Linked DNA regions of Homo sapiens: all the other regions are linked to region 2. Evidence: promoter capture Hi-C in human tissues and cell types (Jung and others, 2019). All regions are on one chromosome and are shown on one strand. Each heading gives the region's core, a stretch centred on a gene start or on the middle of the fragment in contact. The rest is flanking DNA. Distances are from core to core; before and after follow the strand shown.

The links. The method cuts DNA at HindIII sites, captures the fragments that hold promoters and counts their contacts. A contact is called where the count stands out against the background at its distance.
Region 1: a contact is called between a fragment that was not itself captured here and the fragment with the promoter of DUSP26 in region 2, in 3 of the 25 tissues and cell types used here (pancreas, spleen and stomach).
Region 3: a contact is called between a fragment that was not itself captured here and the fragment with the promoter of DUSP26 in region 2, in 1 of the 25 tissues and cell types used here (psoas muscle).

Annotation. Positions count from the first base shown.
Region 1 is chr8:33,640,784-33,643,932 of GRCh38, forward strand. It overlaps the pseudogene BUD31P1. Among named protein-coding and RNA genes, the nearest start is that of DUSP26, 42 kb to the left of the region's middle. The HindIII fragment of the contact is 8,056 bases long and covers 1-3,149 here.
Region 2 is chr8:33,598,669-33,602,051 of GRCh38, forward strand. It overlaps DUSP26 (dual specificity phosphatase 26), which reads right to left and starts at 1,355. Exons shown (of 4, transcript NM_024025.3): 1 at 997-1,355. The HindIII fragment of the contact is 23,069 bases long and covers 1-3,383 here.
Region 3 is chr8:33,535,022-33,538,454 of GRCh38, forward strand. No RefSeq gene overlaps it. Among named protein-coding and RNA genes, the nearest start is that of SNORD13, 23 kb to the left of the region's middle. RefSeq lists a silencer at 2,627-2,827. The HindIII fragment of the contact is 4,604 bases long and covers 1-3,433 here.

The sequences.
Region 1 (3,149 bases), core at 135-2,634, 42 kb after region 2:
TTCAAAGTCCAGGGTGAAGTGGGAGTGGGGCCAGAGTGGCCACTGGAGGAACAGCTTTTGTGGCCACAGGGCACCCTCTCCACCATGCTTCCGGCTTCCCACTGGCTTTGGGGGACCCGGATCATGAGCAGTGCAAGGACAGGCAGAACCAAGTCCATGTATGTTTGAGTCTTTCCACAAGGTTAGACTTTTACTGATGCTGTTTTAATCATAAAAGCCACAAGCTACACAGGCAATTCTCCTAAATACCACCTGCTCACTCAGTCAGAGCCATGGGCACACAGGTTCAAGCCACTCCACAAGTCAGTCAATATTGCAGACCATTCTTAACAGTATACTTAATCGATATGTAAACGTTATAGATTAAACATTACACATCAAACAAGATTTAACATCAAGAGAAAAGGGGATAGGAATAAGGGTTAATGAACCAGTCCAGGGAGAGCTATGTGGACAAGGAAGATGTCCTGGGCTGATCCAGACAGTTGTCAATGTCTTGCAGGAAGAGTTTTTGATTTGAGCACAGCCTTGGGTGGCAGATGCCAGGTGTCGATCACAAGCACCAGCAAGACGGGGTCTCTCAAGATGGCTAGGGCTGGCTGGTGAAGTCCGGCTCATCTTATCACCCTTGAGTCCTCGGATGAGGGCTGATAATAAAGGGTCATATGCCCTTATCTAGTTGGGTGTTGTCTCCATTGATTAGGCAAACATCTGGTCCTGTTGGCATAATGCCTTTTGAAATGTAAAATAAAGTATTTTTCTAAGATGAAGTCACTTATGTCAAGGGTGCCCTAGACAACCTGGCAGATGCAGTTGGTTCCAAAGTTGGTATCCTGAGTCTGAACACACCACAGGCAGCACAAAGCCTTGTAACTGTCTCTTTTCCACTTGGCAGTCAGGTTTGGATCTGCATAATCTTCTTTCAGATAATACGCACACAGTTCTCTGCTGATGGCTTTCTGCTAATGAAACATCTCTAAGATGTAGCAGGATTTCCAATGAGGAATCCTGAAGGTGGGCCAGAGACACTCCCCTGGCCTCTTTTCTTCCTGAAGTTCTCTCTCAGCTTCATCTTCTGATCCAACTCATCCAATGTTGCCTCAATTGGCTACCAATTATCACAGGGCATTTTCTGACTTTTTTTTTCTTTTTCATTTGCCATGTGTAGGATGTTTGCATTGAGCTGAGTCTGGAGGGTTTGACATGGATAAGTCATTTTGAGGATCCTCTCTCCTTTGCTGTCTGTATCTCTAAACCTCAGGGAGTTCCCATGGGCTATTTAAACAGTTTCCACTTGCTTGGGTCAGCCCAACCCACACCTTATCTCTCATGATTAACTCAAGGATTTTGGGCTTTGTTTACGTCTGCCAAATCCCCTTAAAGCCGCACCTCAACTAGGGTTTGATTGGACAACTGGGAGAAGGTGTGCTACAGACCATCCTGAGAACAAGAGTCAGCGTGCCCAAATCATCACAAAGCTGCAATCGAATCAGTCACAATTCCAGGCTATAAATATGTTTATAAATTTAACTAAAGGACAGACCGAAAATGTTTTCACAAGATTGGTTCTTGATAGGTGAAGCACTTCTTTATACGGCAAGAGTGATGTCATCTTCTGCATAATGTATAGAAAATGAATTCAGCGTTTCCTCTAGCACAGGTGATCCTAGTGAGCTCTCCATGGTTGATGGTTTAGAAGAGTTCTGCTTGGGGCCAGGCGCGGTGGCTCACGCCTGTAATCCCAGCATTTTGGGAGCCAAAGGTGGGTAGATCACTTGAGGTCAGGAGTTCGAGATCAGCCTTGCCAACATGGCTAAACCCCTTCTCTACTAGAAATACAAAAAAATTAGCCGGGTGTGGTGGTGTGTGCCTGTAGTCCCAGCTACTTGGAAGGCTGAGGCAGGAGAATTGCTTTAATCTAGGAGGCGAAAGTTGCAGTGAGCTGAGACATTGTGCCACTGCACTCCAGCCTGGGCGACAGAGTGAGACTCTGTCTCACAAAAAAAAAAAAAAAAAAAAAAAAGCTCTGCTTGGCTTCAGAGCCCTCATTGGTAGAGCTCCTTCTCTAATTCCTCCACAGTTTTGACCTGGCAGGTGCTGTCTGTAGTGGAAGCTTCTGGCAACCTTCTCTCCTAGTTATGGAGAGGAGCCTATGTATGTGAGGGCCCTTTTGGTAGGCTCAAAATGGTCCTTCTAAAGATATTCATGGTGGAGTGTGGTGGCTCACAACTGTAATCCCTGTGCTTTGGGAGGCCGAGGCAGGAGAATTGCTCAAGCCCAGGAGTTGGAGATTACTCTGGGCAGCATAGCAAGGCCCCATCTCCACAAAAACAAAACAAAACACAACACAACAAAACAAAAACTGGCCAGGAGTGGTGGTGTGTGCCTATAATCCCAGTTACTTGGGAGGCTGAGGAGGGAGGATTGCTTGATCTCAGGAATTTGAGGATGCACTGAGCTATGACTACACCACTGCACTCCAGACAGAGCGAGACCCTTTGATTTTTTTAGTTTTTATATATTTTTTTTTATTAGAGACAGGGTCTCACTGTGTTTCCCAGGTTGGTCTCAAACTACTTGGCTGGAGTGACCCTCCTGCCTCAGACTCCTGACTAGCTGGGACTACGGGTGTGCACTGCTGCACCTGGAAATCTCCTTGACTTCATTCAGTTCCAGTGCCCTTTACATTATATTCTGTATGAACAGTGCCTCTCTGGAGTCCAGCAACCCTGTGGTCCTGACTCTTAAAAAATAATATAGAATCACAGAATCTGATCGGGCATGGTGGCTCATGCCTGTAATTCCAGCTCTTTGGGAGGCCAAAGCAGGCAGATCACCTGAGGTTAGGAGTTCTAGACCACCTTGTCCAACATACTGAAACCCTGTCTTCACTAAAAATACAAAAATTAGCCGGGCGTGGTGGTGCTCGCCTATAGTCCCAGCTACTTGGGAGGCTGAGGCAGGAGAATTGCTTGAGTCCAGGAGGTGGAGGTTGAAGTGAGCCGAGATTGTGCCACTGCACTCCAGCCTGGATAATGAGAATGAGACCCTGTCTCAAAAAAAAAAAAAAAAAAAAAATCACAGAATCTTTCTGAAGATTTATTAAAATTGTTTTATCATTTTACTTACTCTATGATAATAGGTGATTT
Region 2 (3,383 bases), core at 105-2,604:
TGTTGAGCTGCAGAGCTGGGAAGGACCAGCGTTTGAGGCTTGCCCTGGGACCTTCAGGCAGGGAGGCAACAATGGCAAGGCCCCTTCCCCCTCCCTCCCCATCCTCTCACACCTGTGGTCCTGCCTGTTTGAAAGCAGGAGGTCCTGGAGCCTGCAGAATCCCCTTCCACTCCCTTCCTGGCCTCCTGCCAGGGGGACTTCAACTCTATGACCAGCAGTGAGAGGCCATCTTTGTCCCTGCCCATGCTCTGTCCCCATCTCACACCCCTAGACAGGGCCCAGCTCTCCCTTGCTCCAGTGCCAAGAGAAACCAAGCACTTACAAGGCATTAGAAGCAGGGGTTTTAGGACCAGGATTGGTGAGGGAAGATTGGATGTTAGGGAGTTTAGGGAGAGAGAGTTTTCAATGGCTGGGTCCGGAAGGAGCACAGAAATATAGCACTACAGCCATCATCACCACCACCATCACCATCATCACTACCACCATCACCACCATCACTATCACCATCATCTTCTTCTACCTTTGCACCCAGGCCTAAAGACCCCATTACTGTATTGCAATACAACCTTTCCTCTTAGAGAGTCTGCTGTCTACGAGATGATGAATGGGATGGGGGAAGCGTGAAGGAGCCCAGGTCTAAGAAGGATCTCCGTGGGGCTGTTTTTCCCGGGGGATGCAGAAGCCCCTTTCTGTCCAGGGATACAGCCCTGGGCATTCTCCAATCCCATCCGTCGGCTCCAGGGGCCCTGGCCCGCCGCTCCCTCCCTCCGCCTGCGGTCGCCTTTGTAACAGGTCCATGGCTGTCGCCCCAGTCCTCGCCAGCCTGGCAGCCGGGCCCCGCGCGCGGAGGGAGGGCGCCCGGGAGAGAGAGGCTGGCTCGCTGGGCTCGGGTGCCCGCTTCCCGGTCCCCTCCCTCCCCCGTCGCCCCTAGCTGGGCGCCTCTCCCCAGCGTGGAGAGCCAGCTGAAAAGGCGAAGGCCCGCCGCAGCCCCTCTACCTCTTTGCAAGCGCTGCGCTGGGCCTCAGTCCGAAAGGCGGATCGCCGGCGCAGACAGCGCCACGGCCATGACGCTCCTGCTGCTGTCGCCGCCGCTGTTTCTGCCCAAGACAGGTTGACAGATTAGCAGCTATTTTTAAGCCATGACACACACGTCGAAGCAGGGTTCAAATCAGCGTGTGCGCTGGTGACATAAAGGGACTCGGTCTCACATTCGGTGGCCCGAGTCGCCAGGCAGCGTGGGCTCCCCAGCCAACCCCCCACGAGCCCGCGCGCCTTGCAGACCAGACACGGCCCCGCCGAGCCCCAGCAGCACCGCCTGGAATGCATGCGTGTGTTCTCAGAGCTGCACCAATTACAAAGCGTTTTGCCTAAAGATTACATTATAAGTCATCCCAGGCACTGTCTTAAACACACACACTCCTCCCAGACAGAATTAACTAATTACATAGACACGATTCTGTGCACTGGCTTGTACATGCCTCGGTCTCAAGAAACCGTGTCATAAAGAACAATGGTCCGAAGCCCCCATTAGCCTTCATTATATGCCATGTGCTTCATTTAGCTTAAGGCATTTTATACTCCCCACAAGTCTATGAGGGAGACATAATTACTATTGTCCTAATTTTAGGGAGGAGGCGACCTAGGCACAGAGAGGCTAGGTACTCTGCCCTGGTCACACAGCTCGTTACTGGCAGAGCTGAGCTTGTTCAAACAATGCAGCCTGGCTTTGCAGTTTATGTCCTTAACCACTCTCTAAACCAGTGCCTCCCACAAAATGGAGAAGGCACCATGGATTTCCTTCATTCAGGAAGCCATTTCCACCAGCTCAGCTCATAGTGAACTTCACTTTCCCCAGACTCTCAAAACATTCATCTTCATATTTCTTTCTTTCTTTTTTGAGATGCAGTCCCACTCTGTCGCCCAGGCTGGAGTGCAGTGGCGCAATCTTGGCTCATTGTAACCCGCCTCCCAGGTTCAAGCCATTCTCCTGCCTCAGCTTCCCAAGTAGCTGGGATTACAGGCGCCCGCCTCCATGCCTGGCTAATTTTTTGTATATATTTTTTCTTTGTTTGTTTGTTTTTTAGTACAGATGGGGTTTCACCATGTTGACCAGGCTGGTCTTGAACTCCTGACCTCAGGTGATCCACCCACCTTCTCTCAAAGTGCTCAGATTACAGGCATGAGCCACTGTGTCCGGCCATCTTCATATTAATTTCTCATGTGCTGCCTTCTAGTGACATATTCACTTGATCGGCATTTTTATTGTAAGCACCAAGATTGTAAGCACTTTGAAGGCAGGGACTGTGCTACCTTCCCCAGTGCCTACCTTATTGTGTGAGAGGGAAGTGGGGGAGATGATAAATGTTAGCAGATGATGCTGTTGAGAACTAGGCTGGCTTGAACTCTCGCTGTCTACTAGAAGAAAGGCAGAAAGTAGATTGGCTCAGATTGAAGCTGATGGTGTCAGCTATAGCTGAAACCAGGACTGACTCCATTCCCAGCAGTGGTGGCAGATCAGGTTTTGATCTCTGGGTTAGAGAAAGTACTGGCCAATGTGACCAATCCCCAGGTTCCATGACAGGCTGCCATCCAAGTTTAATGTACCGCCTAGCCTTTTTTTTTCTCTAGAGAAACAAAATTCTTTTCACTTTTCCTTGTCCCTTGTGTTACAGCAGTTTAAATATGAAATGAAATCCTTGTCATTTAAAACAAAGAGGCAGGGCATGGTGGCTCACACCTGTAATCCCAGCACTTTGGGAGGCCAGGGTGGGCAGATCACCTGAGGTCAGGAGTTCGAGACCAGCCTGGCCAACATGGTGAAACCCCATCTCTACTAAAAAACAAAAATTAGCCGGGTGTGGTGGCAGGCGCCTGTAGTCCCAGCTACTTGGGAAGCTGAGGTGGGAGAATCACTTGAACATGGAAGGTGGAGGTTGTAATGAGCTGAGATCATGCCACTGCACTCCAGCCTGAGCGACAGAGCGAGGCTCCCTCTCAACAAACAAACAAAAGCGAAAATAAACAATCAAACAAACAACAAAAAACCCCAAGGAATTGACCTGAGAAATTTGAGATTTTAATTTGCGCATCCAAATTAAAATTTGGATTTAATTTGCAAACCTAGTTAAAACATTATCATAAAAGGAATTGTGAAAGAGCACTTACAAGATCAATATCTTTTTTTTGTTTGTTTGTTTGAGACGGAGTTTTGCTCTTTTTGCCCAGGCTGGAGTGCAATGGTGCAATGTCAGCTCACCGCAACCTCCACCTCCCGGGTTCAAGCGATTCTCCTGCCTCAGCCTCTCAAGTAGCTGGGATTACAGGCATGTGCCACCATGCCTGGCTAATTTGGTATTTTTTAGTAGAGACAGGGTTTCTCCATG
Region 3 (3,433 bases), core at 295-2,794, 63 kb before region 2:
TTTCTTTCTTTTTTTTTTTTCCTCAATTTCTTACATACACTCTTCTGTCTGGCCTTTCCCTACCTCTTGTCATTCTTGTGCTCTGAGCTTAAATGTCTCTTGCTCAGAAAAGACCTTCCTTGTCCATCCCTCTCCTCTGGTTTTACGAAGGTAGTCACTGGATACCTTACGATGGTTGGTCCATGTATTAAATATATGAGTATGCTTGTTTAGGCTTCATCTCCCCCATTAGACTGTAAACATCTTGGGAGTAGGAGCCATTTTGGTCTTGCTCATTGGCACAATGCCTGGCATGTAGTAGGCACTCAATATGTGTTGGCTGTTTAATAAGTTTGAGAAGTTTGATTCTAAGTACAATCATCCACATCAGACTTCTCTACAAATTGTATATTCAGTGGGCATCAGCTCTGCCCAGTGAAAGAAAGCAAACCCGGAATGCAGTGCTTGTGACTTAGTACAGGCTCAGTAAGGGACAGCTGTATTAATTGGGATAATGGCAGGGGAGGGATATACACAAACTTCCTTATTTCTTACAGACTTTTCACTTAGTCCCCTTGTTTAGTTGCATGGCTTCCTATGACCTTATTTTATTTATTTTTATTTTATTTTATTGATTCATTTTTTTTTGAGACAGAGTCTCGCTTTGTCACCCAGGCTGGAGTGCACTGGTGCAATCTCGGCTCACTGCAACCTCTGCCTCCCAAATTCAGGTGATTCTCCTGCCTCAGCCTCCTGAGTAGCTGGGACTACAGGCGCATGCCACCATGCCCGGCTAGTTTTTGTATTTTCAGTAGAGACGGGGTTTCACCATGTTGGCCAGGATGGTCTCGATCTCCTGACCTCGTGATCCACCCGCCTCAGCCTCCCAAGGTGCTGAGATTACAGGTGTGAACAACTGCGCCCTGCCCCCTGTGACTTTAGAAACAAAAATAGCATGACTTCAAGTCTTTCATATACACTTTTTTATGTACTCTTCTTAATCACACTCTGAGGCAGTTACTATATCTCCATTTTACAGAGGAGAAAAAGGAGGCTTAGAGAGATTAAGGAACTAGGCTGAGGTCTCCTGGCTAATTAGAGGCAGAGCTGGGTTTAAAACCCATTCTTTGAATTCCAGGGCTAGCTTTGTTTATTCCACACTACAAATTAATCTCATAATGAGGCGTAGAAGGGAAAGATCCCATGTTTTCCCAAACACAGCCACATTTCATCACTGACTCTTGTCAGTGAACCTTTTGTTCCTCAAATACTAGGAACAAAAATCATTCATTTGGAACTGTTCTTTCTTCCTCTGTACGTGCTTCGTGCATTTCTCTTTGTAAACAAGACTTTAAATAAATTACTTCTAGGCCAGGAGCAAGGGCTTATGCCTGTAATCCCAGCAATCTGGGAGTCCAAGGCAGGAGCATCACTTGAGGCCAGGAGTTTGACACCAGCCTGGGCAAAAAATCGAGACCCCCATCTCTACTAAAAAATAATAATAAGAAGAAAACCAAAGAAATTACTTCTAATTGTTTTATTCTATAGGCACATCTCACTTAAACTTATTTACATGCAGATCTTAGTGTTTTAAAGTCTATAAATTAAGTAAAAAACTCCTTAAGTCTCATTTTAGAGAGGTTTTAGTTGTAAAAAGGCTCGACATAGACTTCTTTAGATAATGAAAACCCCTGGCATGTTTCAGGCAATTATTCAATTCAATGTGCACAGCTTCCAGAACACAGAATGCAGAGATGCCCAGAATTAATGGTCTGGCAGCAAGTCTGTTTCTCATGTTTTCCAATCTGAATGTATAAATTTTTAATCTTACAAACCTGTAATGAATGTGTTGGATTACTGTCTTTGCTCTATTGTCAGCATATAAAGAGACTCAGCTTCTTGGCAGAATGATTAAGTTAAGGATATTGCATTCTAACCACAAGGAAACACAGATCTCCTCCTTGTCAGCATTCTTCCTTCCAAAAAGGTTGCTTAAAGTGGTGCTTAAAAGATAATTCTATCCTAAAACACAGTGACTTAGGAAAAAAAAAAAGAGAGAAATAAATAAAGATAATTCTAGCTTACTAAATTTAGGGTGTGGAAAAAGTCCAAAATGAGAATATTCACTGGGTAATTGTGCAAGGAATGTTAATATGTGTGATAAAGGGAGGGTATTCTACCCACCTGATGCTTGCCTCTGCACCCTCCCCCCCACTTCCGTTTTGCCTTGACATACAACATACAATTTATCAAGGTTAAAAGTTAAATGAGGGCCAGGCGTGGTGACTCATCCTGGTAATCCCAGCACTTTGGGAGGCCGAGGCAGGTGAACTGCTTGAGCCCAGCCTGGGCAACATGGCAAGACCCTGTCTCGATAAAAAATATAAAAAAATTAGCTGGCTGTGGTGGTACAAACCTGTAGTCCCAGCTACTTGGGAGGCTGAGGTGCGAGGATCACCTGAGCCCAGAAGGTCGAGGCTGCAGTGAGCCATGACTGTGCCACTGCACTCCAGAGCCTCGGTGACAGAGTGAGACCCTATGTTACTCTGTTCTCATGCTGCTATGAAGAATAACCCGAGACTGGGTTATTTATAAAGGAAAGAGGTTTAATTGACTCACAGTTCTGCATTGCTGGGGAGGCCTCAGGAAACTTACAATCATGGCAGGAGGCAAAGGAAAAGCAGGCACCTTCTTCACAGGACAGCAGGACGGACAGAGTGAGTGCAAGCACGGGAAATGCCAGACGCTTAAACAACCATCAGATCTCGTGAGACTCACTATCATGAGAACAGCATGGGGGAACCACCCCCATGATCCAATTACCTCCACTTGGTCCTGCCCTTGACACACGGGGATTATGGGGATTATAGGGGTTACAATTTAAGATGAGATTTTAGGTGGGGGAGCAGCCAAACCATATCAGATCATGTCTCAACGAAAAAAAAAAAAGAAAGAAAGAAAAGCTAAGTGAGGCAGTCAACTCTTTGTCACTGCCACCACATTTTAAATATGAAATAGGCTGTGTGCGGTGGCTCATGGCTATAATCCCAGCACTTTGGGAGGCCAAGATGGGTGGATCACCTGAAGTCAGGAGTTCGAGACCAGCCTGGCCAACATGATGAAACCCTGTCTCTACTAAAAATACAAAAATCAGCTGGGTGTGGTGGCAGGCGCCTGTAATGCCAGCTACTCGTGAGGCTGTGGTAGGAGAATTGCTTGAATCCAAGAAGCGGAGGTTGCAGTGAGCTGAGATCATGCCATTGTACTCCAGCCTGGGTGACAAGAGTGAAACTCTGTCCCTGCCATACCAAATAAATAAATAAATACATAAATATGAAGTGATTTCATATCTGAGTTATTCCTTTTTTTTTTTTTTTTGGGACAGGGTCTCACTCTTTTGCCCAGGCTGGAGTGCAGTGGTGTGATCATAGCTCACTTGTAGGCTCAACCTCCT